2 separate regions of the Homo sapiens genome follow, and region 2 is linked to region 1. The links are contacts of gene promoters, found by promoter capture Hi-C in blood cells and fetal thymus (Javierre and others, 2016). All regions are on one chromosome and are shown on one strand. The core of a region is centred on a gene start or on the middle of the fragment in contact, and the rest is flanking DNA. Distances in the headings are between cores, read along the strand shown.

Region 1 (2,890 bases), core at 289-2,788:
AAAATTAGAAAAATTAACTGGGCGTAGTGGCATGTGCCTGTTGTCCCAGCTACTTGGGAGGCTGAGGTGGGAGAATGGCTTGAGCCCAGGAAGCGGAGGTTGCAGTGAGCCAAGATCATGTCACTGCACTTCAGCCTGGGTGACAGAACCAGACCCTGTCTTTAAAAAGGGAGTTGGTGGGGAGAGGTTCTAGAATGTCATGTAGCAACCAGTTTAAGGACTGGGACTCAGGGATCCAACTCCCACAGTTTCCCTGTGTGACCCTAGGCATTTGACTTAGCCTTTCTGAGCCTCAGGTTTTTTGTTTCTGAAGTAAAAGGATTGGACTAGGTAATCTCCAAGATCCTAGGAACCCAGGAGAAAGATGAGAAAATGTACAAGAATGAACACTCAGGTGGAAATGCTGCAATCCTGAGAAGCTCCCAGGATGAATGAAAGGCACAGGACCTCTTACCCCTCACCCCTGCCCCCCTCAAGAGCTGGTTTCTCAAACCTTTCTCTTAGGCCCCTTCAAAGGGGGAAAACTAAAAATTATACAAGTTATAGTTCAAGGACTTTAAATAGATTATTTATATGATTGCTCATAAGGATGAGGCTGTGAGGAGGGAACACCTTATTTAATCTAATGAAATTCCATAGGAAAGAGGCCTTTTGTATATTGAATCAATTTATCTGCCTTCTCAGTGCATCTGTCATATTCTGAAAGATTCTGGGTTGATCTTTTGCGATAACCTCTATGGCTGTGAGTGTGTGTGTGTGTTTGTGTATTTTTTAACATTTTGTATAATGATTGGAGGTTGGTAAAAAGTAACACAACAGTACTTTTTTAATACAAACTTGGTGTGGTCTTGAGTTGTCTTCCATTGGAGAGCGTACGTGTGCCACAGATTGGTGCACCTGCCGGCATCTCTAGGATTGCACCAACTCCCTCTAGCTCTTCTTGGTGGCCTGCAGGGGCCTAGGGCGCATTCACTTCCCTCTGCTTGACTTTACGTGGTGTTCTAGCGTCAGACATCAGGCGATGCCGTGCATTACCCAAGACACTGGACAGCTCCGGATCTTCCCGTCTAACCACTAATCAAGTTAAAAAGAGGAAATTAACGCTTTCTTAGTAGTCTCTGAAAGAAACTAGTTATTTGCGTAAAGATGACTTGGTTTTGTGTTGTTTATCCCTGGGGAGAAGGGTAAAGAAGACCCTCAAACTGGATTTGCTGCTGAAGTGCTTTTAACTCACCTGTGCGGAGAGCGGACTTCAAGAGAGGGCGTGCCGGTGCTCCGGACAAAACCTGGGGAATACTGAAAGCCACCACCACCACCGTCATTCCAGCATGCAGATCTCAGTCCTGGGTTGGTGTTGTAGGGCATTTATTTATTTGACTTGACGGCGCCTTTCAAAGCTTGCGAGGATCCCTTCCTCTTCCTCGTGTGCATCTGCCAAGCCTGTGCCCCGCGCCTCGCGGGTGGACCCGGGCTGGTGGGCGGGGCCTGCAGCGGGGTGGGAGCCCGGTCGCCCGGCCCCTCCCCACCCCGCCCCGCCCATCTCCGCTGGTTCCCGGAAGCCGCCGCGGACAAGCTCTCCCGGGCGCGGGCGGGGGTCGTGTGCTTGGAGGAAGCCGCGGAACCCCCAGCGTCCGTCCATGGCGTGGAGCCTTGGGAGCTGGCTGGGTGGCTGCCTGCTGGTGTCAGGTGAGGGGTCCGCGGGGAGGGGGCGCGCTTGGGAACCGGGAGGCCCCGCGAGATGCCGCCCCTGATCCCATCCCTGGGCGCCCTGCAAGTGACTTAAGAGCCTTCGGGGCCTCGGGAGAGAAGATGCAAACGCCACGGCCGGCTGCTGAGACGCAACTAGGCTGCTGCTGCCGTCGATTCTGTAACAGGAGAAAGCCCCATCCGCGCCCGGATTACAGACCGTCTGGGCCCTAAACTCAGGGGGAGACTCCCGGCGTCTTTTGATTCCCTGTCCTCCTGCAGCTCTCTGCTGGCGGGCGTCTAAATAAAGTAGCTTCCCCAAAAGACCCAAGATCCCACCGTGGCTGTCATCTGACCCTTCTGGAGACTATCAGTTCAAGTGGAGGCCCCCACCAGTCCCCGAGTGCCCTGACAGCCCTCCCTGACCCCAAGTCTGCCCCCTCAGTGCCAGCCCTCCCTACAGATGTGCCTCCCATCACCCGCTGCACCTCCCCTCCTTCCGGTTCAGGCCCGAGCACCCTGAAATCTGGATTCTGTCCCCCAGCGCCCCAGCTCCATGGCTTCTAAACCTAAATCCATTGAAACCTTTTCTGTCCTCTAAATTGACTGCCTAGGTTCCAATAACACCATGGTCACCTCCTTCCTTTCTCATGAACTCTTCCCTGGCCTTCCGGGATACCCCTCCGGTTTCCCGCCCTGTCAGGCTGTCTCTGCTTGGGACCCTCCTGCTCTGTCAGGTTTCTATGTAGCTAATTGTGATGCCCAAGGCCTTTTCTCTCCTTCCCTGGCACTGTTCCTTTGGGGGATTTCAGCCAAACCCTGGCATTAAACACGGGCTATAGGCCCATGACTCGCACATTTATATCTCTCTTGGTACCAGTTGGGTGATGGGTGGTGGTTTATTATAGTCTTCTACTTTTCTACTTGCATGTAGGTTTCAAATTTTCTTTTCTTTCTTTCTTCTTCCGTTTTTTTTTTTGTTTGTTTGTTTTTTTGTTTTTTTGTTTTTTTTTGAGACAGGGTTTTGCTCTGTTGCTGTGGCCCAGGCTGGAGTGCAGTGGCTTGATCTTGCCTCACTGCCACCTCCGCCTCCCGGGTTCAAGCGATTTTCCTCCCTCAGCCTCCCGAGTAGCTGGAATTACAGGTGTGTGCCACTACGCCTGGCTAATTTTTGTATTTTTATTGGAGATGGGGTTTCGCCATG
Region 2 (2,845 bases), core at 164-2,663, 96 kb before region 1:
AGCATCCCAGTGTGGTGTTATTGGCCTGGTTACCTCCATGGGCTGCTGGGACTGGATCCCCTGGAGACCCCCTGAGGAAGCGTGTGAAAGATGCCTCAGAATTGTCCACCCAAGACATGGATGGAAGACAGATGAGCTCATCAGCTCCTGCCCCTATTGGTCAAAGTTTTCCCCCAAGGAAAGCCACCTCCCTTGAGCTTCCAAGTTTACACACAAGCCAGTATAGCTAAGCAAGTCCCCGCAGGCTTGGACAGAAAGCCTGCCACAGCAGATACCCACTGCCACAGCTGTCAGGTGACAGCTTGTTGCGGTTGTCAGAGCAACGCCCAGGAGCAAAAAAGGCGAGCCAGGTCAGGCGCAGTGGCAAACTCCTGCAATCCCAGCAATTTGGGAAGCCAAGGCAGGAGGATTGTTTGAGGCCAGGAGTTCAAGACCAGCTTGGGCAAGAAAGAGACCCCTGTCTCTACAAAACATAAAAAATTAGCCAGGCATGGTGGTGCGTGCCTGTGGTCCCAGCTACTCAGGAGGCTGAGGCAGGAGGATAGCTTGAGCCCAGGAGGTCAAGGCTGCAGTGAGCCATGGTCGTGCCAGCACACCCTAGCCTGAGTGATAGAGCGAGACCCTGTCTCTAAAAACTTAAAGAAAAAAACGGTGAGCCAAGAGCATGTGAAAGGAGCGTGAAAGGAGCATGAAAGGGAGGTGGGCAGAAGAAGCTGGTTGGATAGAGGAAGTGAAAGGAAGAGGCGCATTTGTACAGACAGCCGCCCTTCTGGACCGAGTAACCACGTGGAGAGTGGTTCTCCATCCACCCACATAGGACGCACAAGGAAAAGAAGAGGTTCCCAAAGATAAGGGATTTCATGGGGAAAATACCTCATCGAATGGACTGCGACCCTCAAGGGAAGATGTTCCATAAGCTCGGCGCGAGTCAGGCAGTAGGGAGAGGTCTTGAGATCACAGGTGAAGTGAAGGCTCCCAGGAAGGGTGATTGCAGGGCGAGGGCCTCCTGACCTGGAGACAGGGCCCCAAGGAACAGTCATACGAAGAGGGCAGAGGACAAATGAAGAGGGAGTGGACAGAAAGAGAAATGGGAGGAGAGCCATGTGCCAGGAGCCAAGTGATTTAAATGCAGGTGTAGTGCCCTGGAGAGTTCCATGTGTAAGAACAAGTAAATCATTGTTGCTTACCTCTCCCTTGAAAAAAAAAAAATACCCTGCTTCTTGTCCTAAGTTCCCAGGCTCTCTTTTTGCCTACTCCCTCCCCAGTTGCTGAGTCCAGTCAACCCTCCTGCTACAGTATCCCCTATAGCGCCATTCACCTGCCCTCCTCTGCTCCCTTGGCCAACATCTAGGTTCAGAACCTCATTGTCTCTCTTCTGGTCTGTCCTGCCTCCTCCTCCCTCTGCTGCTGTCCATCCAGGTGGATTTTCCTAAAGGGAAAAGGTGCACTTGAGGGCAAATTTCTCTTGGCCATGCACTTAGGAGGGGGATTTCTGGGTAAAGGGGTAAGTTCACTGCTTTTCTAATTCTCTACTTTTTCCTTATCCTCACCCATAAATCTTACAACCCCCTTGAAGTGCAATAACTTTATTTCTAGGACCTCTCAGAGCCTTTGCCTGTGCTGTTCCCACTTGCCGGGAATGCCTTTCCCTTCATCCCCAATAGTTCAAGCCCCACCTTTTCCTGAGCCCAGCTCAGATGCCACCCCCTCATCCAGGAAGGCCTCCTTGATACCTCCCTACCAGAATTAATCTCTCCTTCTCTTGTGGTCTGAAGACTCTTGGCTTTCTCCCCTGTCCTATTTTTGCTTGTTATCACTGACATTGCTTTACACGCTTTTTCTCCTCTGCTGGGAGCAAGGGCAGTTTCTATGTCACAATGCCCCACTATGCCCATTAAGCTACAGTGCACATGGTACCCATCCCGAGACCAACATTCTTTTTACACTTCTGTGCTTCTGACCTAGGAAAGTCTTACTTTTCATAGAGTGTCATAGCTGAGTTGGAAGCTCTTTTCTTAGAGCCTCTTAAAATAATGGCGTGCCTTATAGTCAATGATCTCTTACATTCCATTAAATACAGTAGGAGATGTTCAACCAATATTTGCTAAATTGGAGGAGTTAAAGTCATTTTGAGTAGGAGAGGGAATCTAGACCCACTATTTGGATTAGTACAGATTTTAGTGCAACTCAGGGCTTCTGCAGAGCCCCTCCAGCTTTCACCTGTCCACTTAGTTGATGATGAGCACGCCTGCGAACTCTTCACACTTTCCAAACCCACCAAGGCAGCTTCTCCCGTAAGGACATGTTTCTTACCTTCAAGACCCCTGTTGCCTCCAGCAGCAATCTCAGTAATGACGTCTACTTCTGTTTCCTGCTTCCTTCTCCCTGACTCCTGCTTCCTGGAGTCCCCTCAGATAAACCTCCTGTGCCCAAGACCTTGTCAGGGTCTGCATTTACGGGAACCCAACTAAAATTCCAGGACCACCATATAAAGGTCCCTTTGTCGGGGGCTGGGCCTGCTCTGGATACGGTAGGGAAGTGGCTCCAGGGTCTGCGGCCAGCGAGGAGAGGGTCCGGCAGTCACCAGTGGGAGCTGTTTCCTCCCGTATTCCTCCCACCTGTCCCTACCTGTCCTGCTGGCGGGGTAAAGAGTGGGATTTACCTCGTGACAGCTGCCTTACAGCCCCATGAAAAGGCACTTTGGGCTGCGGTTGGGGGGAGCGCATCTCCAGGGATTGCAGGGTAGGAGGACAAGAACTCTCCCTGGCCTGGGAGTCAGGGAAATGGAGAGATCAGAGCAACACAAGTGCTGGGAACAGATGGGGCTTCCTGGGCTCCAGCGCTA

Evidence for each region. The method cuts DNA at HindIII sites, captures the fragments that hold promoters and counts their contacts. A CHiCAGO score of 5 or more calls a contact.
Region 2: the fragment with the promoter of LINC01548 here is called in contact with the fragment with the promoter of IL10RB in region 1 in 11 of 17 cell types (neutrophils, non-activated CD4 T cells, total CD8 T cells and 8 more); the score reaches 13.7 in neutrophils.

Annotation. Positions count from the first base shown.
Region 1 is chr21:33,264,829-33,267,718 of GRCh38, forward strand. It overlaps IL10RB (interleukin 10 receptor subunit beta), which reads left to right and starts at 1,539. Exons shown (of 7, transcript NM_000628.5): 1 at 1,539-1,686. The coding sequence starts at 1,638. The region is part of intron 7 of IFNAR2-IL10RB (IFNAR2-IL10RB readthrough); the gene reads left to right. It overlaps IFNAR2 (interferon alpha and beta receptor subunit 2), which reads left to right. Exons shown (of 9, transcript NM_001289125.3): 9 at 1-836. IL10RB-DT (IL10RB divergent transcript) reads right to left here and starts at 1,432. Exons shown (of 2, transcript NR_038974.1): 1 at 1,235-1,432; 2 at 804-1,074. RefSeq lists enhancers at 1,055-1,114, 1,145-1,214 and a silencer at 1,385-1,794. The HindIII fragment of the contact is 8,663 bases long and covers 1,396-2,890 here.
Region 2 is chr21:33,168,823-33,171,667 of GRCh38, forward strand. LINC01548 (long intergenic non-protein coding RNA 1548) reads right to left here and starts at 1,414. Exons shown (of 4, transcript NR_024102.1): 1 at 1,319-1,414; 2 at 874-1,011. RefSeq lists an enhancer at 626-695. The HindIII fragment of the contact is 7,514 bases long and covers 1-2,845 here.